Linked DNA regions of Homo sapiens: all the other regions are linked to region 1. The links are contacts of gene promoters, found by promoter capture Hi-C in blood cells and fetal thymus (Javierre and others, 2016). All regions are on one chromosome and are shown on one strand. Each heading gives the region's core, a stretch centred on a gene start or on the middle of the fragment in contact. The rest is flanking DNA. Distances are from core to core; before and after follow the strand shown.

Region 1 (4,751 bases), core at 882-3,381:
CCTTCACTCCCATCTCTTTCCTTCTTCATTAGATAGCCACTCAGTATCAAATGCTAAAAGTTACTAGAAAAGTGAATTGGCATTTGAAAAGTAAATATATGTCAAAGTAGAAAACAAAGGCCCTATGTGTGTGAACTCTCCAACCACTTATCTAGCTAGTCCCCTTTTAATAAATGTTCTAAAGAAAACATACAAAGTTTTGAGTCTTACCAAAAACTCTTCAAAAGAGAGTGAATAAGTTGATGACAGATAGGTGTCCACAAAGCACATCAGAAAAGTATTTAGTGTACAATTACCAATTTTAAATAGTTTTCAGTCAGGGTAGGCTTCCCTTGACTGTCTAACAAATTAAGTAATTTTAAATATTCTTTAAGTTTGAGAGATCTCTTAAAAATAAGGTTTGACCTTTTTAAAATAAATGTTAAAGATTCTTGTAGAATATATTTGGTAGCTGTAAACGCTTGGTACCAGATCTCATTGCCAACTCATGTCTTTCATTATATCAACACGTTTTATAAATATACACAATTTGTGCTCACTGGTACGTCAGACCATAAAATAAACGGGTATATATGCAACTACTGTACCTCTGCAGATTGGGAAATTATACTCTTTGGGCTATGTACACTTAATGTTTAAGAATAACAACAAATAATGCAGTCTCTGTACTGCCAAAATAAGAAAGAAAATTGAGGATACTGGCTTTTCAATGTATCTTTCAGGGAAAAATAACTGTCCTTATTTAAGCATGACTGTTGACCCCTATCAGTCCAGTTTTTGAACCAAGCGGGGGCCTTTTTCTAACTCTGAGAACACGTTGAATGAGCATCTTACTCCAGCCCACCCAAGTAACAAATTCTTTCTGTTAGGAATTGTGCTTGTGATTTTCCGAAGTTAATTTAACCCTGGATTTACCTGAGTCCATGAAATTACAAATCACACCATGTTAGATGGAATAGCATAATAATCAACAACACCGGCACTGGAGTCAGACTAAGGTGGTTCAGACCCTGCCTCCTATAGCTGCCACCTGTACATCCTTGGGCAAATCCCTTAATGTGCCTACCCCTCAGTCTCTTCATCTGAAATGAAGTTAACTGTAATACCTACCTTCTAGTTACGAGAACTGTGTGCTGCTCAAAGTGCTAGATGTATTATCCTCCTCATCATCGTCATTGGGAACTTAAAGAATTTTAATCTAAGAAAATACATTTTGGCCGATTGTAAAAGAAAACTAATTTATTAATATTGGTGTTGTAGCAGCTTCTGTGGTGACTCCAGAATTCATGTTGGAACTCATTCAATTCAGGTAGATAGAGTAATTACAGTTCACATTTATCTTGAAGCCTGACTGAGCTAAGCCCTTCGCATGGATTATTTCATTTTACCTCACAATGACCTTGAGGTGAGGTTTATTATTATTCCCACTTTACAGTTAAGGAAACTGAGGTTTGGAGAGTTTAAATAATAGCTAAGCCTAAGCTTACCTAGTGAGAATTGGACCTGTGTTAGGAACATAGGCAACCTAAATTCAGAGCTTCCAGAGCCAATCTACTTACAGCAGCTTTCTTAAATTAAAAAAAAAAAGAAAGAAAGAAAGAAACGATACATAAATTAAAAATTATTGGCCGGGCATGGTAGCTCATGCCTGTAACCCTAGCACTTTGGGAGGCAGAGGCAGGTGGATTGCTTGAGCTCAGAAGTTTGAGACCAGCCTGGGCAACATAGTGAAACCCCATCTCAATTTAAAATAATAATAATAATAATAAATTCTTGGGACACTATCAACTAATAGCTAGAGAAACTAATAGCTTAGAAAATTTATTTCCAAGGGACTTTTGTTAAGATACTATATTGTAGTCTGAGAATCAATGATTTTCAAAATAACACATTGCCCTATTACAGCAAAACTACACTTCAAATGTTCAAATTTCACACATTGTTAGAAATTTAAAATAAACTAAGCCAATTGGAAGACCTCAAAAAATATTTACAGAAAGAAAGACATTAACATTGTTTACCTGTTACTTGAATTGAAGGGAATAAGTTGAGAGCCAAGAGCAGCCTGAGCATCTTTGTCCTGACGATGGGCTAGGGTTCCAGCCCCTCCTCCCCGAGGAACCCGAAGTGTGAGGGGAACTGAAAGACGCACCTGCCAAGGCCTGAGAGTCTCCGTCATCCACGGCCACCACCACCGCCACCATCCCCTTAGGGCACATGATCAAGGCACTCAAACCACAAGGCATCCTGACTGCAGCATTTCACACAGGATATAACGTTGTTTTGATGACTTTAGACTTTTACTTCTATTTTTAAAGACTTTTTTTTTGTCACTGAAAAATAGTCGGTCACTACATGATGGGCTTATGGGAATTATTCTTTATTGATGGATATCAAGAGTTGTGTAAAAGGGGTGCTTGAAATCCAGCAGAGATTAAAGGGGAGACAAAGTGTTCTTAAGAAGGAACAGGCCGGGTGCAGTGGCTCACGCCTGTAATGCCAGCAATTTGGGAGGCCAAAGTGGGTGGATCATTTGAGGCCAGGAGGTCAAGACGAGCCTGGCCAACATGGTGAAACCCCGTCTCCATTGAAAATACAAAAAATTAGCCAGGCATCATGGTGGGTACCTGTAATCCCAGCTACTAGGGAGGCTAAGGCAGGAGAATCGCTTGAACCCAGGAGGTGGAGGCTGCTATGAGCCGAGATCATGCCACTGCACTCCAGCCAGGGCAACAGAATGAGAAAAGAAAGACAGAAAGAAAGAGAGAAAGAAAAGAAAAGAAAAGAAAAGAAAAGAAGGAAAGAAGGAAGGAAGGGGAGAGAGAAAAAAGAAAGGAAGAAAGAAAGAGAGAGAAAGAGAAAGAAAGAAAGAAAGAAAAGAAAGAAAGAAAGAGAAAGAAAGAAAGAAAGAAAGAAAGAAAGAAAGAAAGAAAGAAAGAAAGAAAGAAAGATGGAAAGAAAGAAAGAGGGAGGGAGGGAAGGAAGGAAGGGGGAGAGAGAGAAAGAAAGAATAAAGTCTCTAGCAGAGGAGAGATTTTCATAGGATGGGGACAGGTTGTGTCAAAAAGATAATGGTAAGAATTCTACTGAGGAATTGGGAAACATCTGCATAAACGTTTAAAGGAGTTACAAATATTAGAAATGTAACATTTGTGTAGGACATAAGGTAGCCCTCTGGAGCATTTAGCACACAGTGCTTGATTTATGTCAAGCCTCCTCCAACTCACTTCTAGGAACTTTGCAAAACCCATTCTACGTGCAAGCAGCCAGCCAGCTGAGTATCTGGGGGAGGTTCCCTAAGCAAAGGGAAAGTCAAAACAACATTCTATGTTCTTAGTGGGACAGTAAGGCAACCAAAAGCCCCTTGGTGTCTCATGCTCTCTATGTCCCTCAAGGTTAAGTAATAGGGCACAAAAGGAGGCTCCGTGGCAGGATTTCTGAGATTCATAACCACCACCCGACTGCACCCTTCTTCAACTCCCAGGCCCTTTGCAGAGAGGGTTATTCCACCAGCACGGCCAACTGCTCTCTTCTTCCGGCACCTACGTCAGTATCTTGTACTCAATGACTTCTTCAAAACTTTTCCAGTAATTTTTTTCTTCTTTTTGATAATCTAAGCTTTGTGCAATTACTCTAGTTGGGGGTTTTGTGTATGTGGGTTGTTTTAAAAGATAACTTGTATTGCTTTTTATTCTGACTATAAAAGTAAGGCATATTTCATTGAGAATGTTTAGAAAAATTATAAGCATTAAAACAAGATTCATCCACATTCTTACCACCCTAATATAAACACTGCTAATATTCTGGTCCACTGCCTTCCACCTGTTGGTCTGTTAAGATTTTTACATGTTTAATATCATGTTTTACTTATAGTTTTCATCAGATATGTACTATTATTTGTTATATCTTGAACATTTTCCCATGTCATTTAAGTATCTTTATAAACATTATTTGTAATTGATGCATAATATTCCATTCTCTAATTATATCATAAATTGTTTAACAAACCCCTAGTGTTGTTACCTTTTTTTCTTCGCTATTTTAAAATGCTACAGTCAAACTCTTTGATGACCTAGCTGTAAGAGGAGGCAGGCTTCATGTCCCTCCCTCCTGATCTGATAAATGACAGATCAAAAGTATTTCCTGTCCTGGTAGACCTTCTTTGTTCACACTTCAATTTTCCCACAAACACAGTCTTTGTGAACCCCTCTTACTAACACATCTTTTGGTCCTTTGGAGAAATTTGTCCTTGGAAATGATTCACTCACACTTCTGAACTATAGGTAAGTGACAAAGCTATGCCCTGAGTCCTGGAGAAGATTCACTTCTAGAATTTGACACAGTCTTCCTGGCTCTGATCCTCTATCCAGTTAGGGGAACCCATGCCTTCCCCAGGGCCTGAAGTCTATCTGGGGGAAAATTTACAGATGGCAAGGTGACCTTTCCTAAAAGGTCATCCATATTCTAGAGCCACCAGCCTACCCAGATCTTAAAACAAGAGGCTCTGAGACTCATTATACATACTGAGAATATACACAGAAGAAACAAAGATACCCAGTAGTTTTCCATGATCAACAACAAAAGGCTAAGGAGTGAGTTAATAACTGTCTTCAAGCATATTAAAGATGACTACATAGCATCTAGTTAATACTATGTAAATAGTAGTAATCGGGTCAAACTTAGCTGAAAAAGAAACAGTTCACTCATCTGGCCTAATTCCCTTATCTTGCAGAGAAGGAAGCTGCAGCCCA
Region 2 (4,751 bases), core at 1,254-3,753, 250 kb after region 1:
ACAAATACATGATTGATTTCTTTAATATTAGATTTTTATCAAAGCATAGTGTTTAGAACTTAGAATTTTGAGTGTTTATAGTCCTTTCAACCTAGTATTATTTTTTAAATAAATGCCCTCTTTGTCTTAGAGTCACATAAATGGATAGTTTTTAAATTCTTAAAGTTTAATCATACACTTAGCACGTTGCATTCTTTTAAAATATATTCCTGTTTAGTTTGACAGCTAATCTAAATGTAGAGAAAAAATAAAGTCTAACGCTTGGTTTGCCCTGACAGTTTTATTAAATTTAGTGTAACTGTGCTGTTTGCAAAGGTATTTAACTACTGTTACATGCAACTCAGTTCATGTGTCAACTTAGTTTTTCTCCGAAACAGTGTTTTAGTTAAAAGTTTGTAGGTAAAAATTCAGTATTACATGTATGACTGGCATTTTTATTTAATAAACATTTTAGGATTGCCATAGTAGTTCCAAATTCATATTGTGTTTAGAATAGAAAGTGTTTTGTCTTGTTTTTGTTTTTGTTTTTGTTTTTGTTTTTGTTTTGAGACAGAGTCTCGCTCTGTTGCCCAGGCTGGAGTGCAGTGGTGTGATCTCAGCTCACTGCAATCTCCGCCTCCCAGGTTCAAGCAATTTTTGTGCCTCAGCTGCCCACATAACTGGGACTACAGGCTCGCGCCACCATGCCTGGCTTTTTTTTTTTTTTTTAAGTAGAGACGTGGTTTCACTATGTTGGCCAGGCTGGTCTTGAACTCCTGACCTCAAGTGATCCACCCGCTTCCCAAAGTGCTGGGATTACAGGCATGAGCCACTACACCTGGCTGGAAAGTTCTAATTGAGGTTAAATTAGCAGCTTGGTTTTAATATAAAACCATTTTGGTTTAATAACTGTCATGCATTTCACAGGAGTAAACACAACTTTGTTCTGAGAATCCAACGATCATAAGTCTTTGCAAATAATCTTGTTATTTTAGGAATGTTTTTGTGGAAGTTCTGTAACTGTACCAGAAATTGAAGGAGTCCTTTGGTTGAAGGATGATGGCAAGAAGTCCTGGAAAAAGCGTTATTTTCTCTTGCGAGCATCTGGTATCTACTATGTTCCCAAAGGAAAAGCAAAGGTGTGTCCCTTCTGTTGGAATTTGAACTTCCTCATTATGCTAATTGCTTTTAATTTGTATTGAGTATGCTGACAAGGTGAACCCAGGCTATGATTTGTTTCAGTTCGTGGAAGACATAGAATATTGCTTTGTTTATTAATCTATTATAAAGAAGAAGAAACCTGAAAGTTCTTACTTCTCTGGTCACTAGTTGAGCCTATCTCAGTTCTCTTTACCAAATTTGAAATCATAGTTTTATTTGTTGTTTTTTGGGGACTCTTTCTGGAGTAGTTTTGTTTATTTTTGTTTGGGAAGAACAGCACAGCTCTCTGGGATTACAGGCTTTTTTATCTTGTTTGGGTAATATGCTTCTTCTGCTAAGGGCCACCCTGGTGTAGCTATCACTTCGGTGCTTATTGGCACCAGGACTGTTTTAAACTTTTTTACAGTATTATCTCATCTAGTCTTCACAATAGTCCTATGAGCATATATTGTTGCCCCTATTTAACTGGTGAAAACCTCCCCCCAACCAGTTGCGAATCACTATACTTTACATATGCATTATAGGCACTGAACGACTTGATATTTTCTTGTTCTTTCCAGAGAGCTCTATTATACATTATTGTTTTTAATGTACTAGACTATATTAATAGTATCTTTAAAATGCCAACACTCCTTAACAAGTTAGTGTTCATTGTGAATGACAAAACAGTAAGTAAAATGGGCTGCTTTTTTGTTACGTTAATGATTAAAGAAGAAACATTTATGGAGCATCTCATTGTCTCGTGTAAATAGCAATAATTTCTATTTAGTATTAGCAAAAGTAGTTTTGATTCTCACCTAGAAAATGTTAACCAGGTATATTTGCTTGTTTGTGCATTATTATTAATTTTATCTTTTTGGTGTTTTTATCTTAGGTCTCTCGGGATCTGGTGTGCTTTCTCCAGCTGGATCATGTCAACGTTTATTATGGCCAGGACTATCGGAACAAATACAAAGCACCTACAGACTATTGTCTGGTGCTGAAGGTAAACACATATTTCTTTTTAGGAATTTTAATTGATGTTAGACATAGAGCAGGTTATTGGATATTTTAGAACTGTTGAGATTCCATCAATTATACTGTTTTTGCTTTATTCTCAAAGTTTAAAAAGGAATGGTGAAGTGTGGTAAGGAAAAGAAGCATGTGCTATATCATAGCAGACCCTGGGCCAATTATCTCTAGGTAAGGAGTGAATATTAGATTGTAAGCTTTGAGTTGTGAGATATAAAATGTATTTGATTATAAATTTGAGATTCTCATTTAACACCAGGCTTATTTTAGGAAAACTTAGAACAGAGCCGAATGTAGGTCATAAATGTGCTTTAGTTCTTTTCCTGTACTTACTCAGCAAACCATCAGAGGGCACTGTGTCCAAGTTCAAATCAGACTGGCTGTTATCTGGTCCAGAAATAATTTTTGTCTCTTTTTTTCCCTGAACTATAGTCATGATAGCCCATGTATGTATTGTGACCTGAGCTGTTTTTAGGGAGGTTTTTTTTTCTTCTTTATTCAAGCTTTTGTACTTCTTGCAATGATTATATCTGTACTTCTGAGAAGAACGGACATTTTAAGCAAATTTATAGTGATCTATTAGAACACTGATAAAAACGACATACAAAAATTCAAGAAAATTAGGGAGATAATTTTTTTTTCATTGGCTCCATCTTTGTAATTTCTTGGTAACTACTTAGGTCTACATGTTCATATCATGTTTAATTTCACTTTTCTCTGAGAATTGTCACTTTAGTTTGGGGACTGCCATTAGTTTGGGAGTTTTAGGATTTTAGGATTTTGGAGTTTTGATTGCTTTGATAAAGTCAGTACATTGTAGTAGCAACCTTTTTTTTTTTTTTTTTTTTTTTTTTTTTTGAGGCAGGGTCTTGCTCTGTCACCCAGGCTGGAGTGCAGTGGCACAATCACAGCTCACTGTAGCCTCGACTTCTCAGGCTCCAGCGATATTCCCAGCTCAGTCTCCCAAGTAGCTGGGACTTGAGGTGCATGCCACCACACCCAGCTAATTTTTGTGTTTTTTTGTAGAGACAGGGTTTAGCCATATTGCCTAGGCTAGTCACAGATTCCTGGCCTCAAGCAATCTGCCTGCCTAGGCTTCCCAGAGTGCTAGGATTACAGGCAGAGCCACTGCTCCTGGCCATAATGGTAACCTTTTATTACATAATTGTGTTTTTGGGGAACACCACTGTATCATTTTAGGTACCTTTAGGTGCAAATAGTTTTTTAAAAGTCAGTACAAAGTAGCTTAATTCAGCAGTTTTCAAAATGAGGTCCACAGTCTCCTGAGAGTCAGTCCCTAAGACCATGATGTCAAAATTATTTAATAATGCTAAGATGTTATTTGCCTCTTGAACTTTCATTCTCTCACATATGTATAGTGGAGTTTTCTAAGAGGTTATATGACATGTGATGGTATCTTCACGCTAGTGTAATGTGTGTTTGTCTATTTATTTATTTATTTATTTTTGAGACAGTCTCACTCTGTCTCCCTGGCTGATGTGATCTCGGCTCACTGCAACCTCTGCCTCCCGGGTTCAAGTAGTTCTCATGCCTTAGCTTCCCGAGTAGCTGGGACTACAGCCACATGCCACCACACCCAGTTAATTTTTGTATTTTTAGGACAGATGAGGTTTTGCCATGTTGGTCAGACTGGCCTCAAGTGATCCGCCTGCCTCAGTCTGCTGAAGTGCTGGGATTATAGGCGTGAGCTACTGTGCCTGGCCTGGCCTGTGTATTCTTGTAGTTTAATTTTTTTCTTAGTTTTAATTTATAATGTAAGTATTGCTGGGGTGGAAAAACTTCACTTCATACTCTTAGGGTCCTAGCTGGGCACACAAATTAAATTGACATAAGAGATCAACAGGAGAAAAGCATAATTACTTGTATACTGGATTGGACAAAGAATAATTTGTGAAGAAGCAACTAAATTATATGTGAAGCCTTAAAGATACGAGTTATTTTAACAAGGTCTGTACAGAATTCTGTTGGTTTCAACTTCTCATCCCTGAGGAGAAAGATATTTTCGCTTTCTAGTATTGAGAAAGCATCTTTTGCATGGTAATTTCATCTTCTAAGGCTTTTAAGAAATAGCATGAAGGTCAGAGTGATCTTCTGTACCTGCTGTTTTTCAAGTGTCTTTTAACTTAGTCAATATGCCAGGGTGGTACATTTTTAACTCCTTCAATATCAGTAGACATAATCCACGTAAAAGAAAGTTATTGGGGGACTCTCATAACATGAAAACAGTAAAAGTTGGTTGGTTATTTCAGTGGCTCAAGGTTGTCAGTGAGAACTCAAATTCTTTCCATCTTTCCTTGTTCTACTTCCCGCATATCAGCTTATTCTCAGGCTGATTCACCTCACAGTCCCAAGATGGCTGCTGCAGTTCTATGCATCACATGTAGACCCAGAAAAATCCAGCCAGCAGAAGAGGGATTATTGCTCCCTGTATTTGTCTTTTATAAGAGGAAGGAACTATTTCACAGAAGTTACTCAACCACCCTCCTTTTGAGAGTTACTGGCCCAGAGTACATTTTCTGCTGACAAGCCAATCACTGACAAGGGAATAAAACTACTATGGTTGGCTTACACCAGTCAGA
Region 3 (4,751 bases), core at 662-3,161, 230 kb after region 1:
AAATTAATGTGGCTAACAAAATTTTAAATTACCTTTGTGATGATTTCTAACACCATCTTTACTGTCCAAGTGAAATTTGTAAATAATATAACCTACTTACATACCTACTTTTTTATATGAATGTAATGCCCCAACACCTATGAAGGAGAAATAATGAAAAAGAAATTTATAATAAATAATATATCTGTTTTAGTATGTAAATGCTTAGCTGCCACTATTAAAAGACATAATGAAGTAGTCAAACCTTACACCTACCTATAATCAAGAACTTTGGGTTTAAGAGAAGTGAGATCAGAAGCCTTTTTTTTTTTTTTTTTATACAAGAAGTGTAGGAAAAAGAACAGAAATATGAGTGGACCCCAGAACTGAAACATGTTATAAGTGATAGCAGATAATGACATACTTGTATATACTATGAGAAAAAGGGAAATAATCTTAATTGAAGTAGGGATAATGTGCTGAGACAGTTTATAGGCAAGTAGAGAAAATGGGAGCATGTAAAATTCTTGCAAATGAGATAAGATTATTTATAATTGTAATGACAAAATAATTTCAGTGTTATAATGTGGGATGAGATGGTAGTAATAAAATCATTTGATATCTGATTTTTTTTACAGTGTAGATTTTTCATCATGCTATATATTTTATTTCTTTTTTTTTGAGACGGAGTCTCGCTCTGTCACCCAGGCTGGAGTGCAGTGGCGCGATCTTGGCTCACTGCAAGCTCCACCTCCCAGGTTCATGCCATTCTCCTGCCTCAGCCTCCCAAGTAGGTGAGACTACAGGCACCCGCCACCTCGCCCAGCTAATTTTTTGTATTTTTAATAGAGACGGGGTTTCACCATGTTAGCCAGGATGGTATTGATCTCCTGACCTTGTGATCCTCCCGCCTCGGCCTCCCAAGGTGCTGGGATTACAGGCATGAGTCACTGCGCCCGGCCATATTTTATTTCTTTAAGATGCAGTCTTGCTCTGTTGCTCAAGCTGTAGTACAGTGGTGCCATCTCGGCTCACTGCAATCTCTGCCTCCTGGGTTCAAACGATTCTCCCGCCTCAGCGTCCCAAGTAGCTGCGACTACAAGTGTGCTTCACCACACCTGGCTAATTTTTGTATTTTTAGTAGAGATGGCGTTTTGCCATGTTGGCCAGGCTGGTCTTGAACTCCTTGCCTCAGGTGATCCACCTGCCTCAGCCTCCCAAAGTGGTGGGATTACAGGCATGAGCCATCACTCCCGGCCTTCTGTGCTATGTATTTTAAATATGACAACAGTAGTATGAAATATTTTAAAACAATTTTTACTAATAACGTTAATTTCATGTTTTCACTAATTTAATATTATTTTGCTTTTAATTCTGTTCAAAGGAATTCCAAATATCTCCTATCATTTACTGGCATGTGACAGAGTGTACACTGCCAGTTGTGGTACTGGCAACTCTTACTTCAAGCTAGTTTTCCATTGGTGAAATTATTTTCCAACATTATGAACAGCTGTTTGTAAGCTCAGAACAAAAGAAAGTGCAGACTTCTTTCCATTTATTTTAGAGGGTAATAGCATCCTGGAAAATTCATTCAGTATTAAAATTATGCAAAAATACTTTTTAGATGTAAAATGAAATTAGATTCTAAGCTCAGATTGTTATAAGCAAGATTTCCCATCTCTGCGACTCTCCGTGTAAGGACATTTAACAATTGTGGAATGTGGGACTTTTGTTGTTACTGACATTGTACCATGCTTGCAAGGCATCTTGCATTTTCAACTTCCCAATAAATACCAGTAACTCTCCCTCTCCTCTTCATTGTGGCAGCCCAGAATGTCCTTAACATTTTCTGAAATTCCTGCTTGAGGACAGAGCTACCCTCTTTTGAGAACCACTGGTCTCAAATATCCCTTTGCCCTCTTTCTACCCTGCCACACTCCCTCACACTGCGACCCCAGCAGCCTCTTAATCATCCTCCAGGACTGTAGCTTTTTCAGAATTACTTTATTAAGCCGCTAATTTGGGGTTAGATACCCGTCTCCTTGCTCACCTACCACTTAACACACTGTTTTGTAGTTGCAAGTTGGTCTGCATCTCCCTATTTAGACTACATTCTGTGAGGCAAGGAATGCCCATCTTGGTCACCTTTGCATCTCTAATGCTGGCATGGTTCCACACTCAAAAGTTGGAGCCTAAAAAATGGTTGAATACATGAAGAGGAAAACAGAGAAATAAAATAAATCAATAAAATGGATTGAAAATAAGCCCTTGACTTTGTGTCTATAGTTGGTAAATAAAAGAAAATATAAGAAGGCCCTGTTTATATGAAGCTGTATGCATTTTTATTAACTCACAACATAAACCAAGACTGAAGCCTGATTGGATGCCATGCCCAAACCATAATTTTTTTTTAATTAAACGTTTAAAATATATTTCTAAACAGAATGGCCTTACTCAGTTACAGTAAGATCTCCATAGCAGAGCAACCCACAAAGACACAGCACTGATTTTTTTCCCCTGTAATCAAGGGTGAAAAATATACAACTTGTTTCTGAACCAAAACCACAATTTCTGCAGTTTAAAATGTTTCACTGATAATACGGCCCTGGTAGAAATTATGTAGTTTTAAAACTACATAATTTACTCTCCTTAGTCCTTCAGCTGTGCACCACTCTTCTCATCCCTCTTGCATCCTTCCAGTAACCAGTTTCACCCCACCCCTGCCCCTTTTTTCTGAAGAGCAAGGAATTCTAGGATCAGTGTTATGACTGGTACCAATTGGAAGAAGATACTTTATTTTTTGAGACAGGGTCTCGCTCTGTTGCCCAGGCTGGAATGCAGTGGCATAATCTTAGCTCACTGCAGCCTTAAGCTCCTGGGCTCAAGTGGTCCTCCTATCTGAGCCTCCTGAGTAGCTGGGATTACAGTTCAAGCCACCATGCCCAGTGGAGTTTGCTGCCTCGGGTTTCCACATGTTTGTTGTTTCTGCTAGTAACTAAATAGTGAATAGCTACGTAACCATCCATGCAGGATATAATTTATGATCATGTTTAACTATTGTTTGTGGTCTCATTTTTTGAATGTGGCATATTTTGGGACCACCAACCATAATGATTACCCTCTTTTTATTTTAAGCTATTTGAATATCTTAATATTTCAAAATGGACTTCTATTTCTGTGTCATTAATCAGATACAATTAAATATCATTGCCTCATACTTAACCAAATTATCAGTTTTTTGATGACTTGAAGTCTTGAGGTCATGAGTTTGAGAACTGATTAAATCTTGTGTTTTTAAGAATTAAATTTGAATTTGATGTTTGGAATTACATTTACCAAATCATAGTTTGTTTTGATGGCCTGAGGCAGATTTTATTTTTTTAAATTTGAAATATAATGATCTGAATATAGATAATCTACTCACTTGGAGATAATTTTTCTAAAAAAGTAACTTTTATAAGATAAATACAGTAAGTTTTCAAGAAAGTAATTTCTTGAAATACATGTTACATGTTTTACATAGTAATTGTGTAGCAGTACATGTTTACCCATTATATTTGAATAGCTAAAAATGAATGGGAATAAGAGCAATGAAAGTTATAGTTGCTCTTTTATTTTTAAGTGAAAGCAAGTTTATTAGAGAAGTAAAGAAACGTGGCTGGGCACAGTGGCTCACGCCTATAATCTCAGCACTTTGGGAGGCCAAGGCGGGCGGATCACCTTAGGTCAGGAGTTCAAGACCAGCCTGGCTAACATGGCGAAACTCTGTCTCTAATAAAAATACAAAATTAGCCGAGTGTGGTGGCCCATGCCTGTGATCCCAGCTACTCAGGAGGCTGAGGCAGGAGAAGCGCCTGAAGCTGGGAGGCAGAGGTTGCAGTGAGCTGAGATCACGCCACTGCCCTCCAGTCTGGGTGAGAGAGGGAGACTCTGTCTCAAAAAAATAAAAAAAAAAAAAAAGAACTAAAGAAACCAAAGAATGGCTACTCTTACAAATTGTGCTTTTTGTTCTTTGTTTTTCCCAATTCCCTCCCTCCTCCTTGGCTGTGCATTAACCTCAAACTAAATTGAATTTTCAGAAATTACTACTTACCTAGTGTCTTTATGGAGGAGCCAATCAGTCTTACCTTTAGGAGGACTACACAATCTAGTTAAATGAGGACCTAGGGATAGTTCTCTATGTTCTTGTTATTGTTTGACTTTGTTAGTGCTAATCTTGATGAATATGTCCAATTAAAAAAATTGGACCTTAGGTTTCTTTTTTTTTTTTTAAAGAATGGGTGAGAGGGGCATTTATGCTTATAAAGTTTACCTTGCATTAAAACACAGCTTTAAAAATGCAGACAATAAAATACCATATAGCAAACTTAACATAGTATAGATGTGAGCAAAGATTATATTGTCTTCTGTAACATGTTTTTAATCTTGAAGTAGTGTATTTTATCTATGACCGTGTATGTACTTTTTTTTTTTCTTGAGACAAGAGTTTCACTTGTCGCCCAGGCTAGAGTGCAATGGCACAATTTCGGCTCACTGAAACCTCTGCCTCCCAAGTTCAAGCGATTCTTCTGCAGCAGCCTGCTGAGTGGCTGGGATTACAGGCTCCTGCCAGCACACCCAGCTAATTTTTGTATTTTTAGTAGAAACGGGGTTTCACCATGTTGACCAAGCTGGTCTTAAACTCCTGACCTCAAGAGATCTGCCTGCCTTGGCCTCCCAAAGTGCTAGGGGCCATGTACTTTCTTATAGGGGGTGCTGCTCTAGTATTTGTT
Region 4 (4,751 bases), core at 878-3,377, 210 kb after region 1:
GGCAATGAGAACATTAGAACAAAACTTATTTACTCATAAATAATGTCTTTGGAAAGAACATTTGTGTAAAATTGCGTAGGTATGAGATTCCTTAACTAAAGGAAAAGCAAAGTGGGCAAGGTGGAAGCTTAAATTACTAGCAGCTTATTTCTGCAGCAATCTAGAATTCAAAGTGATAAACTCTTCGTGTAATTCTTGCTAGATCATTTTGAAAGGCAGACATCTTTGTGACCATAATCTGTTAATACTGTATTTTGGGGGGATTTTTTTTTTTCTTTTTTCTTTTTTTTTTTTTTTTTTTTTTTTTTTGAGATAGAGTCTCACTCCTGTCGCCCAGGCTGGAGTGCAGTGGTGTGATCTCAGCTCAGTGCAACCACCGCCTCCCGGGTTCAAGCAATTCTCCTGTCTCAGCCTCCCAGGTAGCTGGGATTACAGGCATGCGCCACCATGCCCAGCTGGTTTTGTATTTTTATTAGAGACAGAGTTTCACCATGTTAGCCAAGCTGATCTTGAACTCCTGACCTAGGTAATCCACCTGCCTCGGCCTCTCAAACTGCTGGGATTACAGGTGGGAGCCACCACACCTGGCCAGGGGAGAATGTTTTCAACTCCTACTAGGATTTCATAGGTATCATTCCCTTCATCTCTAATCAGAAGAAGTGACATTTTTTGTCAGAGATGTCTTATGTCTGTAACTGCCAAATTCTTTCTGTTTTAATTCTTAATTTATAAAAAGGGTGATTTAAGCATAGAGATTATCACTAGGCTATGCAGTCCTGCTCTGGGAGAGAGAGGAAGCAAAGAAGAGCAAATAGAAAATGATAATGCATGGAGAAAAGTATGCAAGGGCCAGCTGACATGTGGGGTGTTCTTGACCATGTGGTTTTATTGTCCATGCTTGGGAGGAGGGGCCCAAAAGAGAAAAGGCAGGTAGATATTGGTCCAGCTGCTCTGGGTGAACTAGGAACTACATGATGCTGCCCTGAAAATGGTGTTTCTACTGGTTTGATACCTTGTACTTTCCCCTGTATTTTAAGTTGCCTGACATAAAAGTGTGAAGAGCCACTAATGACGTGACTGTTCTTTTCATTATATAAATCTGTCTTTAGAGAGAAAAAAAGATTAAAACTGTGGCATAGTGTGACTCACTGCTAATATGTTGCTTTGTAACACTTGGGACATTTTCAAGAGATGTTTGACTTTACAAAGTTTGTGGCTAAAACCTCAAGTTTCTTGTTTATTTCATTACTTTAGTTCATTACAGTGTTATCTGTACACCTGTATCACGTACTCAGTGGTATGGTATTTTCAACTTAGAATTAAAACAAGTTTAAGTTTTAGGTAGTTGGTCAATCTTCTAAAATAGTTTGTAAAGTTTTTTATGTATGTGCATTTTTCTGGAAGAGGGTTCATAGCTTTTATAAAATTCTCAGCAACCCCTTTAAAAAGGTTAAGAGTTCGTGTCTGGGCAACAGAGCATGACCTTGTCTCAAAAAAAAAAAAAAAGATAGCATTATAAACACATAGAGTATCCAGCATTCTTTTAAAATTTGAAGCTTGTTCAGTGCTTACTGTAGATATAAATTAAAGTTTTAAAACACTAATCCTTATATTTTGTGAATCTATTAAACAATAACTACTGACCCTTTCTCTGAATTTCTCTGTTGTAAATATCTTTTTTCCTTGCTCTAGAAAGGTTAGAGAGGAAGAGTATCATTTAAACTTACAAGTGTAACTTACAAGTCACCCTACCCAAAGTATACAGTATGATTCAAGATTTGTCACAGGCAGTGTAGCTGGGTTGCAATTTGCCCTCCTTTTGATAGAACTGGAGAAGGACAAGAATATTTCATCATTGTTTGAACTTGTAATCACTTTCCATTAAAATTAGTGAGTCTTGGGTCTTAATAATTTTAAATCCAGAACTGTCCGTTATCTTCAGAGTACTTCATATAGCAAAGATCGAGGCTTTCCTGGACCTAAACCAAATCCCTTTGAGGAAAGAAAGAACAGAACTCTCTGTGCGGTTTCTTTTTTTTTTTTTTTTGAGATTGAGTCTCGCTCTGTCGCCCAGGCTGGAGTGCAGTGGCGTGATCTCGGCTCACTGCAACCTCTGCCTCTCAGGCTTAAGCGATTCTCCTGCCTCAGCCTGCCAAGTAGCTGGGATTACAGGCGCCCGCCACTGTGCCCAGCTAATTTTTGTACTTTTAGTAGAGATGGGGTTTCGCCCCGTTGGCCAAGTTGGTCTCGAACTTCTGACCTCAGTTGATCCGCCTGCCTCTGCCTGCCAAAGTGCTGGGATTACAAAGTGAGCCATCACACCTATTTCTTAGCTTACCATGTCCATATTCACTTACCTCACTTATTTTATAGTGCATGTATATAAAATGAAGTCAGTCACTATACTTAATATATTTGAAAAGATATTTACTCTGAACTATGACAATCTCAAGTGCCTTTAAAAGTAAGCATAGGCCAGATATGGTGGCTCACGCCTGTAATCTCAACACTTAGGGAGATGGAGGTGGGCAGATCACTTGAGGCCAGAAGTTTGCAACCAGCCTGGCCAACATGGTGACACCCTGTCTCTACTAAAAATACAAAAATTAGCCGGGCATGGTGGCACATGCCTATGGTCCCAACTACTCGGGAGGATCCCTTGAACCCGGGAGGCGGAGGTTGCAGTGAGCCAAGCTTGTGGCACGGCACTTAAGCCTGGGTGACAGGACGAGACTTCATCTCCAAAAAAAAAAGTAAGCATATATCTAAAGATTGAAATAAGTATAACCAAAATAATAATGTCAAATACAATTATACTTTTCCTTAAGTCTATTACTTAGGAGAACTTTGGTTTAATTAATTATAGTGTGGCAGTTCACTTAATCATAAAACAAACTTCATCTTTTTTTATATTATTGAAACCTGAATTTAATATGACTATTAAACTTTCTTTTTATAAAGAGTTTGGATTCTGACAAGCCCATGGAACCAGTAAAAAGATCTCCTCTTCGCCAGGAAACAAACATGGCCAACTTTTCTTACCGCTTCTCCATATACAACTTGAATGGTAAGATGTAATTGGAAATAAAATGTAAAATAGTATGCTAAGTCACACAATGTAGGAGCAGTACAACTGCAATTCCCAATATAAAAACTCGATATAAAAGCTACATGCATAACTCGACCAAGTTCTTAAATTTCTTTTTTCTTTTCTTTTTTCTTTTTTTTTTTTTTTTGAGACAGAGTTTCGCTTTTGTCGCCCAGGCTGGAGTTCAGTGGCACAGTCTCGGCTCACTGCAACCTCTGCCTCCCAGGTTCAAGCGATTCTCCTGCCCCAGCCTCCCGAGTAGCTGGGATTACAGGCATGCACAACCACACTTGGCTAATTTTGTATTTTTTAAGTAGAGATAGGGTTTCACCACGTTGGCCAGGCTGGTCTCGAACTCCTGACCTCAGGTGATCCACCTGCCTCAGCCTCCCAAAGTGCTGGGATTACAGTCGTGAGCCACTGCGTCCAGCCCTTAAATTTCTTGATTTGTGTATTTTATTAATATTACTAATTGAAAATATCACAGAGAAAAGCAAACTAGAACATAACTAAAAGATAGTTGGTTTTATTAATAATTGACAAAGTACATACCCAGGTGGAACCCCACAGCAAACTTAATTGCATTGTTTTCTCACCGGATTAAAGTCCAGTGAAGTTACTTCTTAGTAATTTTTAAAGCAGCCACTGTGGCCTTTATCTGTTGTATTCCACCTAGTCAAGTTTATAATATTGACCTGTCAGTCTGTAATTTTTTAGACTTTTGACTTCTCTTTTTATGCCCTCAGCTCTTTCAGTATTGACATCTCTACCAAAGCATTGATCATATTAACAATATATTGAAGCCTGTGGTAAAAAGTTGCACAGAGGAATGTGGTTAAAACCATGGAACAGTATAAGATTTTTGTAGTGTTTTTGTCTTTGAACTCATAATTTATTCTCCTCTGATTATTACAAGCCTTAAAAGAGGAGGACTGTGTACTTCTAAAAATTTATCTTGGAATTTAAAACAAAAACCAGAAATACTTAATTTTATTTGCTTTAGGCCCAACAAAATATATTCTTTTGCTTCATCACCTGCATTTATTAACTGATTTATAATAGAATGTATAAATTCTGGAAACATTATGTGTTGTTCATTGCAGAAGCTCTGAATCAGGGAGAGACTGTGGATCTGGATGCCTTGATGGCTGATCTTTGCTCTATAGAGCAGGAGCTCAGCAGCATTGGTTCAGGAAACAGTAAGCGTCAAATCACAGAAACGAAAGCTACTCAGAAATTGCCTGTTAGCCGACATACATTGAAACATGGCACCTTGAAAGGATTATCTTCTTCATCTAATAGGATAGCTAAACCTTCCCATGCCAGCTACTCCTTGGACGACGTCACTGCACAGTTAGAACAGGCCTCTTTGAGTATGGATGAGGCTGCTCAGCAATCTGTACTAGAAGATACTAAACCCTTAGTAACTAATCAGCACAGAAGAACCGCGTCAGCAGGCACAGTGAGTGATGCTGAAGTACACTCTATTAGTAATTCCTCCCATTCCAGCATCACTTCCGCAGCCTCCAGCATGGACTCTTTGGATATTGATAAAGTAACACGCCCTCAAGAGCTGGATTTGACACATCAAGGGCAGCCAATTACTGAGGTAAATAAATGGAACTTTTTCCCTGGTATTTTGTTATTAAAATAAAGGAGAAAT
Region 5 (4,751 bases), core at 762-3,261, 190 kb after region 1:
GACTTCATTTGAACTAGGGCAGAGCAGATAGCTGTGGCTGTCTTTGGACTGTGAAGGTGGGAAAGCTGGCTCCCTAAACTGCTCCCTCCCCTTAAGTAATAGAGTAAAGAGTAGCTGGCAGCAGATACCTTACTCCGGAATTAAGATTGGAGAGAGGGCCAGGTGTGGTGGCTCATGCCTGCAATCCCAGCACTTTGGGAGGCTGAGGCAGGTGATCACTTGAGGCCAGGAGTTTGAGACCAGCCTGCCCAACATGATGAAACCCTGTCTCTATTAAAAATACAAAAATTAGCTGGGTGTGGTGGTGTGCCTGTAATCCCAGCCACTCTGGAGGCTCAGGCAGGAGAATCACTTGAACCCGGGAGGTGGAGGCTGCAGTGAGCTGAGATCACACCACTGCACTCCAGCCTGGGCGACAGAGAGAGTCTCTGTATAATTTTTTTGATTTTTTTTTTTTTTTCTTGAGACTGAGTCTTGCTCTGTCTCCTGGGCTGTAGTGCAGTGGCGTGATCTCGGCTCACTGCAACCTCTACCTCCCAGGCTTAAGCAATTCTCCTGCCTCAGCCTCCCGAGTAGCTGGTATTATAGGCGCCTGCCACCACACCTGGCTAATTTTTGTATTTTTAGTAGAGACGGGGTTTCACCATGTTGGCCAGCTGGTCTCGAACTCCTGACCTCAAGTGATCTGCCCACCTCAGTCTCCCAAAGTGCTGGCATTATAGGTGTGAGCCACCGCGCCTGGCCTTTTTTTTTTTTTTTTTTTTTGAAATAGAGTCTCGGGCGGGGCATAATGTGGTGGATTGTAGTCCCAGCTACCTGGGAGGCTGAGGCAGGAGAATGGCATGAACCTGGGAGGTGGAGCTTGCAGTCTGCCGAGATCACACCACTGCACTTCAGCCTGGCCGACAGAGCGAGACTCTATCTCAAAAAAAAAAAAAAAAAAAAAGATTGAGAGAAAAGACTGATAAATAGGAAGAAATTGAGAGTGAAGTCAGTAATTAAATAGTAGAAATTCAGACAAAAATAGAATGGGGTTGGAGGAGTGGAGGAAATCTTTGGTATCAACTAGTTCATCTATTCCCCCCCCCATTTTTCTGCAGATTAAGAAAGTGAGGGCTAAGGATTTAAATGATTTAACTCAAAGTTCTAGCTAGTTAGTGGCAGAATTAAGACAAGAATTTCAAGTCTCCTGATTCCTTGTTTAGTCCTAGATAACTAGGGAGATCTGGCAAACTGTTTATTAAACTAACGTTTTCAATTGTGTAAGATAATGAAAGTCTGTTTTTACTCATTCACACTTAGGACATAAACATGAAAGATTTACCTATTTGAGATTTCTTATGGACCAGAATTTGTGTTAAAATGTTAAGGGATGGCCGGGCGCGGTGGCTCATGCCTGTAATCCCAGCACTTTGGGAGACCAAGGTGGGCGGATCACCAGGTCAGGAGATCCAGACCATCCTGGCTAACACAGTGAACCCTGTCTCTACTAAAAAATAACAAAAAATTAGCCAGGCATGGTGGCATGTGCCTGTAATCCCAGCTACTTGGGAGGCTGAGGCAAGGAGAATCGCTTGAACCTGGGAGGCGGAGGTGGCAGTGAGCTAAGATGGCACCACTGTACTCCAGCCTGGATGACAGAGCAAGACTCTGTCTCAAAAAAAAAAAAAAAAAAAGGTAAGGGATGTTTAGCATATGTTGTTTAAATACCCAACAAACTCATTCCAAAAATTTCAATAAGTTTTTTAGACTATTCTTGTCACCCAAGGCAATTTTTGACTGTTAAATTCTATCTTACTTCCATTTGTGTCTCATTAATGTCAGGAATAATGATCCATCTCTGGTTGGATTTCTTACTCCTGGTGGAATAAAATGTTGAGGCATACAAACATGGAGGGAGAATTTGTTTGTTTTTTGTTTTTTGGGTTTTTTTTTTTTTTTTGAGACAGAGTCTCACTCTGTCACCCAGGCTGGAGTGCAGTGGCACAATCTTGGTGTGCACCACCACACCCAGCTAATTTTTGTATTTTTAGTAGAGACAGGGTTTCGTCATGTTGGCCAGGCTGGGCTCCAACTTCTGACCTCAAGTGGTCCGCCTGCCTGGGCCTCCCAAAGTGTTGAGATTATAGGTGTGAGCCACCACCACCCCTGGCCCATATTCTGCTTAATTCTTTTTTGTTTTTTTTGGAACGGAGTCTCACTCTGTCACCAGGCTGGAGTGCATTGGTGCGATCTCGGCTCTCTGCAACCTCTGCCTCCTGAGTTCAAGCGATTCTCCTGCCTCAGCCTCCCGAGTAGCTGGGACTATAGGGGAACACCACCACACCCAGCTAATTTTTTTTGTATTTTCAGTAGAGACAGGGTTTTACCATATTGGCCAGGATGATCTCAATCTCTTGACCTTGTGATCCTCCCACCTCTGCCTCCCAAAGTGCTGGGATTACAGGCATGAGCCACCGTGCCTGGCCGATTCTTAAAGTCTCTTTTAGCGACTGTGTGGATTTTGGTTTTTCATATATAGGAATTGGGAGTAGCTTTTTAAAGGGATACTGAAAGAGAACTCACAGGTTAAAATGGGGAGACAGCAAAGACATGGGAAATGGAAATGTAAAGAAGGTAGAGAATTTTGGAATGAAACCCTGGAAGGGAAGAGGAAGGGAGATTAAAGAAATTGAGAGGACAAACATTGTGACAAATGTACCGATAATTATACTTTGAATAGATTCTTTGTTAAAACTAGTTTGAGTTGGGTTTCTGTCAGGTGCAAGAACCCTTACTAATAGTCATTTGTTAATTTTTACCAGAGAGTCATTAACGCAGCTATTGAATCAAATCATATGCCTTGAAATAACCTTATAGAAATACTATTAAAATACTCTTCTGAAGCTAAAGTGCATTGCAGAATTTTCTGATTTTTCCTAACCATTCTTCTATTGATAGGGAAATTAATTTTGGAATGTGTTGGTTTCTTTTGATTAATATTTCTTTAAACTAGAACCAGATAAATTGGCCACTTTTTTTTTTTTTTAAAGAAATGTACCTTTAGCTTTGAGTCATCTTAAATTAGAAATACTTGGCAGAAAAAAGTCGAAATTTGCATCAAGAAAGAATATATTTCTGTGGTAGTTGCTCTGGGGTGAAAAATGAGAACCATATGGTTTCTCTCTTTCCAGAGCTTGCAATCTAGTTGGGTGTGGAGGGTGATAAGGCAAGTGCACCAGTAACCACCACATAATACAAAGCTGATTAGCTATAAATGCCATAGAGGTACAGAGTTCATGGGCTTCTCAGAGGAAGTGGCATCTAACTCCTCTCTTGTTTAACTAGCACACACTTAAACTTTTAGTTTTTTTTAAATTGAGATATACATAATATTTACTCTTTTTTTAAATTTATTTTTTAATACAGACAGAGTCTCGCTATGTTGCCCAGTCTGGTTTCGAACTCCTGGGCTCAAGCAATCCTCCTGCCTCACCCTCCCAAACATTTACTCTTTTAAAGTGTACACTCAGTGAGTTTTATTACATTCACAAGGTCATGCAACCTTCACCACTATCTTAATTCCAGAATAAACTTAAAAAATTCTAGTGTTTTTAGCTGAGGTGTGCTGTCACAGTTCCCAGACCTCACCACTCCCTATTGGTTTATATCTAACTACCACCACCAGTATGTATATTGGCTGCCTGACCCCTGCAGGTATTTGAGTTTGCATCCCAGGTTTGAGAGTTTGTTTTTGTAGTTTCAGTGACCCTGGAAGAAAATGTCTTAATTGCCTGGGGGATGCCACCCTGGAGAATACTCTCTGCTCTCCTGCAGAGCATCCTTTTTCCCATTTCTATTCTCTTAATCCTCTGGCTTCTTTATGAATGGTCCCTACCTCTACTACAGCCTTTGGTAAGGGATTACTTCCTATTACCCTCAAGAACCTCAAGAGGACTTTTTTTTTTTTTTTTTTTTTTTTTGAGATGGAGTTTTGCTCTATCACCCAGGCTGCAGTGCAGTGGCATGATCTCAGCTCACTGCAACCTCTGCCTCCCAGGTTCAAGCAATTTTCCTACGTTAGCCTCCTGAGCAGCTGGGATTACAGGCAGGCGCCGACAGTATTAAATGTATCTTTTATCAGTAATGAGTGGTAAAATGTCTTTCCTAGGAATTTTACATTTATGAGATAGAAACAGAAAGCAGACATCTTGAAGCTTTTTTGGTTGTATGTATTAGGCCATTCTCATATTACTATAAAGAAATACCTGAGACTGTATAATTTATAAGTAAAAGAGGTTTAATTGGCTCATGGTTCTGCAGGCTATACAGGAAGCATGATGCTGGCATCTGCTCTGCTTCTGGGGAGACCTCAGAAAGCTTATACAATCATGGTAGAAGGTGAAGGGGGAACAAGGCAGGTGACATGGCCGGAGCAGGGGCAAGAGTAGGGGGGAGGTGCCACACACTTTTAAATGACCACATCTCACAAGAACTCACTATTGAGAGGACAGCACCAAGGGGATGGTATTAAACTATTCATGAGAAACCACCTCCATGATCCAATCACCTCACACCAGGCCCCACCTCCAACATTAGGGATTACATTTGACATGAGATTTGCAGGGATACCCATCCAAACTATATCAGTGGGGGATATTTGATCAACTTTAGTAATACCTCCTATCTGGATGTTGGGAAGAGGTCAGGAAATATGTTAATGAATAATGCAAAATAGAAGTGATTTACTGTTTTACTCCTTTTGTTCTGAC
Region 6 (4,751 bases), core at 1,145-3,644, 150 kb before region 1:
CTCTGTGTGTTTGTGCTAATTAGCTCATCACACAGAGCTCCTTTCAAAATCGACTTCAAAGGAAAAAGAAAATCATCTACCAAAGTAAGTGACTGCTGAAGAAGAATCTATCAATCATCTCACTTCGAAAGAGAATTAAAGAGAAAGGAAATGATATGCAAAGTGACTGGAAAGAAATTTTAGCTTCATTACCATTAAAGGGTGAAAATATGGGCTGGGCAAGAACCCAGTTAAATAAATGTGGTAGATTAATTTTCAGTCCCTAGGAAACTATAAGCCAATCATAAAATCAGGTAAAAAATGGATGCTTCTGAGCTGTGGACTTTGTCAGTCCTTTAGTGGGGAAACAGAGTAGGTTCCTCCTGGCTTTTCAGTTTACATTGTGAACAGGGTTGTCAGGGAAGCAAAGTTGTATTTGCTGATTTGGATGACAATGAAATGCAGAGCCTGCTTCAGTTGAAGGGTAATCTTTGCCTGTCACAGATTTAATTATATAGAGATGAAAACAAATATTTTTGAATGAATAAATAATAAGTCGGCTGGGCATGGTGGCTCATGCCTGTAATCCCAGCACTTTGGGAGGCTGAGGCGGGCAGATCACTTGAGGTCCGGAGTTCGAGACCAGCCTGGCCAACATGGTGAAACCTCATCACTACTAAAAATAGAAAAATTAGCTGGGCGTGGGGGCGCACACCTGTAGTCCTAGCTACTCGGGAGGCTGAGGCATGAGAATGGCTTGAACCTGGGAGGCAGAGGTTGCAGTGAGCTGAGATCACACCACTGCACTCCAGCCTGGGCAACAGAGCGAGACGTCTCAAAAATAATAATAATAATAATAATAATAAGTTAACTGTGGTCACAAAGCGATTTGTACAGGGAATCTGTGTTCTAATTGCCTAAGCTCTTTATATGATTACATCTTTTGAATATCTTATCTCCACTTATGGATAATGTTCTGTTATTATATTTTGAATTTTAGACATTATCATCTCTGATTGTCTGTCAATGTCCTTAGCTTCTCACTCCTAAAAGTAAAATTAAAGTTGGATTTTGTCTTTTTTCTTAATCCCTCAGCCCTGTTGTAACACAGCCAGCCACAAATAAATTTAAGTAAGTGGCTTTATCAAAAGCCAAAAATAGATGCTTTCAAAATAGGTAAGCTTCTTATTTTACAGATCAGGAAACTGATATTGAGAAGGCAATTGACTTGCCCAGGGTCTCATATTCAGATCTTATTCTTTCATTGTCAAGGAGAAATAAACAGAAAGGGAAGGGTAAATAGTCCCATATTTGACCCACGACACCCTCCCCACAATGTACCCCACCTGAATGGTACATTCAGGAGTGTACCTGATTTCTATTTAGAACGAGCTGAGATTACCCAGTACCATTTCCATTTTACAAAAGAAGAAACTTCACAAATCACTAATATTTTCTTGTCTTAGTGCAAGGAGAAGGAAATCTTGGACATGGACTACAAATCATCTTTAATGCTGAATGAACCACCCACCTACACCCCAAAACTTGCTAGCTATCTATAAAGAGTAACATTGGAAGTGCCAAACATTTGATGGAACCCATTTCTTCCATGATATTTGTGGCTGATATAATCTCAGCCTCGAGCATTTATTTCAGTTTCTTGGTTACAGAGACATTGCTTTCATATTTTGAGCTGTGTTATTTTGGGCCCTGCTGCGACTGCCACATTTCAATGATGCCAGGCCCTGACCCTCTTCATACTTCCAGTTCAGAGGAAATGGTTAAGCCCAAACCTTGAGCACAGAAAATATAGAAAAAGAGTACCTATACTGTTTACAGTGTGAGTGATAGCAGCTGTGATGCTGGAAAAGGGTGTGTTAGGTGACAAGAAATACAGGGTGTTTGCACAGTCTGTGGCAGGCACTGACTCCTAGAGCTAGAAGAAATGTTAGTGAGTTCTGCTGTCTCATTTTAAAGAGAGAATATGAAGGCCCAGGAAGGTGAAATGATTTACCCAAATCACCCACACAGTCTGCTGGTGGCAGAACCAAGATGAGAGTCCAAGGGCCCTTGACTCTAATGTGATTTTCTTCTCACTGCCTTTACCATCATTCACCATCTTCCCCAGAACCTCTTGAACTGGCATGGCTTCTGGCTCTAGTTTTCTGCCCAGTTTGCAACTTCAAACCCAGCCCCACCAAACTTCCTGCTAGGTCTTGGGTACCCACAAACACAAATCAGCAAATCATTTAAGTAAAAAAACATATACATATGGTCTCATAGCAGCATTAATCACAACAGCCAAAGTGGAAACATCCCAAGTGTCCATCAACTGATGAATGGATAAGCAAAATGTACTCTATCTACACCACGGAATATTATTCAGCCATAAAAAGGAATGAAGGTGCATGCTACAACATGGGTAAACTTTGAAAACATTATGCTGAGTGAAATAAGCCAGACACAAAAGGACACGTATTGTACGATTCCACTTATATGAAATATCTAGAATAAGCAAGTCTGTAGAGCCAGAAAGCAGATTATTGATTGCTAGGGAATGTGAGAGGGGAAAATGGGGAATGACTGCTTGGCGGTATGAGATTTCCTTTTCGGGTAATGAAAACGCTCTGGAGCAGCATAGTGGTAACTGTCACATGATGCTGTGAATATACGAAATGCCACTGAATTGTACACTTTGAAACGGTTAAAATCGTCGATTTTATGTTATATGCACTTTACAACACACACGCAAAAATACGGTCATATTGACAGATTCTATAGGCATTCACCGTCTCAGAAAGCACACCATTGGTCTTACAGTATTATTGGCCATGTTTTACTCTCCTCTGAATGTAATCTGGCCAAATCTGAATCCACGTTCCACTTCTTTCCAAGTGTCAAAAGAATGAACTGGTGGACACATCCTCCATGGGCTGAGGCAAGGAAGAAAGATTCTGGTTATTTCTCATAATCTGCAATTCTGATCCCACATCACACTGAACCATCACCAGCCAGAATCTGAGATATGGATCACTGGCTCTGCCCTCTGCTGGGCACAATTTTCTAACAGGTTACTCAGCTGTGGACTAACTAAATGAGATGGAGGGAAGCCATGTTAGAAAACTTTGGCCCAATGAACTGTATTATTCCGGTGTGCTTTAGGAGAATATGATTTAGAAGGAGCTGGTTACATTAAGTAGCTTTCCTTAGTAGACCCATTTCACAGATTATGTTCTAAGAGGAAAATCTCTGGCCCAACACTTCAGCCATAAGGAAGAAACTAAATAATTGTATTTACATGGTCACGTCAGAACCTGTTGAGGGTAATAAGAGTAATGCACTGTAATTAAAACCGAAGCTCTTTGGTTTTTGTCTGGCACACGCATAGAGCTCAGTTTCTGTATGCACCTAATAGGACCATGTCATGGCAATGACATTGTCTGCTTAGAAATCCATTGCTTATATTTTTGTTATTTCTCAACATTATTTAGATTCAGTCTGATCACATAAAGTTCTTGCCACATGCAAAGTTTGAACTTTGTAGTTCTGGACATTTCTGTTCCATCGGTTAAGAAATGCTGACAAGTAGAAAACACCAGAAACATGTGTTTCCTGTGCTCTTAAAATATAAGCAGGTCAAGAAGCTTCCATCAAATGCATCTCCTGCATTTCATCCTTTGGATAAAATAGACAATTGTGAGCATGAGAACAAGTAAGTTTATTTGGAATTTTAAGCTCACAAAAAAAAGCTAAAGGAAGTTATGATGTTTAAAAATTAAATGTTTGCCACTGGAATTTATTATCCTGATTTATAGGATAAATTCAGTAAGCAAGTTTATGATCATGTTGCCAAATAAATGCAATTCTTTTTCTCATCATTTGTAATCACTATTTCCGTTTGAGAAAATAAATCACTTCCAAATTATCTGAATCTCCCTCCAAATAACCAGGCTTTTTTTTTTAGTTTAACATCATAAAATGTCTATGTAAGTGAATGCCATTTGTATAACCTGATTTTACTCACTGATTTCACTATCTCCTGTAGCAAAGAAAAACTGAAAAAAATAAGTGAAATCCTTAAGATTTTTATTTTAAGAGAATGAGAGTAAAGAAGAAAATGAGAAGAATAAGAGAAATGACAAACAAATGAAACAAAGGAAGAAAGACAAAACAGAAACTTTAAATGAAGGATAATTTGCATGTATTCAAAGAAGCATCGATTCTGACCCATCTGACAGAATTAATCAGCAATAAGAGAACATTGGTTTTTATTGTGGGTGGAACTTTCCTAAAATTCCCAAAACCTCTTGATATCACAAAACCCCAAAAAAGTGCTCTGCTAGATGTTTTTATACAAAGAATGTACAGATAATGTCACTCTAGTACTAAATTTAGCAAATAAAATTGATTGATTGATAAGATTCATTGAATCTATTTTAGAGCCTTTAACTCAAATTTCTTCAGCATAAATGGTTTTTTGAAGTCGCAAACCTAAAAGGAAATTCTTACTTAGATTTAATCATGTTTCTGTTGACACTGAGTCAGATAACAACTTTTTAGAAATTTATAGCAGTTTGAGATGTTACCAAGATTCAATGCCTCAAATCGTGTCGTTCCTGCAGAGAGACCTCAATTTGAAGCTTTAAAGTTTGAAAACTCATCACAAAATGTACAAATTATTTCTTTAAAATATTTTCAATAAATTCTGTGTTAATCGATCCTACCCACTGTTTTCCAGCAAACATTTAGCCAAGCTAAAGGACATAAGAGGA

The links. Contacts are between HindIII fragments. The CHiCAGO score rates a contact against its expected background, and 5 or more counts as called.
Region 2: a fragment that was not itself captured here is called in contact with the fragment with the promoter of CD28 in region 1 in 1 of 17 cell types (activated CD4 T cells); the score reaches 5.7 in activated CD4 T cells.
Region 3: a contact is called between a fragment that was not itself captured here and the fragment with the promoter of CD28 in region 1, in 1 of 17 cell types (total CD8 T cells). The highest score is 5.3, in total CD8 T cells.
Region 4: a contact is called between a fragment that was not itself captured here and the fragment with the promoter of CD28 in region 1, in 6 of 17 cell types (total CD8 T cells, total CD4 T cells, activated CD4 T cells and 3 more). The highest score is 11.6, in total CD8 T cells.
Region 5: a fragment that was not itself captured here is called in contact with the fragment with the promoter of CD28 in region 1 in 5 of 17 cell types (activated CD4 T cells, total CD8 T cells, total CD4 T cells and 2 more); the score reaches 8.4 in activated CD4 T cells.
Region 6: a fragment that was not itself captured here is called in contact with the fragment with the promoter of CD28 in region 1 in 1 of 17 cell types (activated CD4 T cells); the score reaches 5.2 in activated CD4 T cells.

The regions. Positions count from the first base shown.
Region 1 is chr2:203,704,019-203,708,769 of GRCh38, reverse strand. CD28 (CD28 molecule) reads right to left here and starts at 2,131. Exons shown (of 4, transcript NM_006139.4): 1 at 2,022-2,131. The coding sequence starts at 2,073. RefSeq lists an enhancer at 2,102-2,251. The HindIII fragment of the contact is 2,136 bases long and covers 1,485-3,620 here.
Region 2 is chr2:203,451,804-203,456,554 of GRCh38, reverse strand. It overlaps RAPH1 (Ras association (RalGDS/AF-6) and pleckstrin homology domains 1), which reads left to right. Exons shown (of 14, transcript NM_213589.3): 9 at 975-1,118; 10 at 2,015-2,125. Among named protein-coding and RNA genes, the nearest start is that of RAPH1, 81 kb to the left of the region's middle. The HindIII fragment of the contact is 306 bases long and covers 2,351-2,656 here.
Region 3 is chr2:203,471,316-203,476,066 of GRCh38, reverse strand. All of the region lies in intron 4 of RAPH1 (Ras association (RalGDS/AF-6) and pleckstrin homology domains 1), which reads left to right. Among named protein-coding and RNA genes, the nearest start is that of RAPH1, 62 kb to the left of the region's middle. The HindIII fragment of the contact is 6,781 bases long and covers 1-4,751 here.
Region 4 is chr2:203,489,530-203,494,280 of GRCh38, reverse strand. It overlaps RAPH1 (Ras association (RalGDS/AF-6) and pleckstrin homology domains 1), which reads left to right. Exons shown (of 14, transcript NM_213589.3): 3 at 2,962-3,067; 4 at 4,192-4,697. Among named protein-coding and RNA genes, the nearest start is that of RAPH1, 43 kb to the left of the region's middle. The HindIII fragment of the contact is 1,138 bases long and covers 1,559-2,696 here.
Region 5 is chr2:203,509,547-203,514,297 of GRCh38, reverse strand. All of the region lies in intron 1 of RAPH1 (Ras association (RalGDS/AF-6) and pleckstrin homology domains 1), which reads left to right. Among named protein-coding and RNA genes, the nearest start is that of RAPH1, 23 kb to the left of the region's middle. The HindIII fragment of the contact is 4,375 bases long and covers 1-4,198 here.
Region 6 is chr2:203,856,639-203,861,389 of GRCh38, reverse strand. No RefSeq gene overlaps it. Among named protein-coding and RNA genes, the nearest start is that of CTLA4, 8.8 kb to the left of the region's middle. The HindIII fragment of the contact is 2,463 bases long and covers 1,163-3,625 here.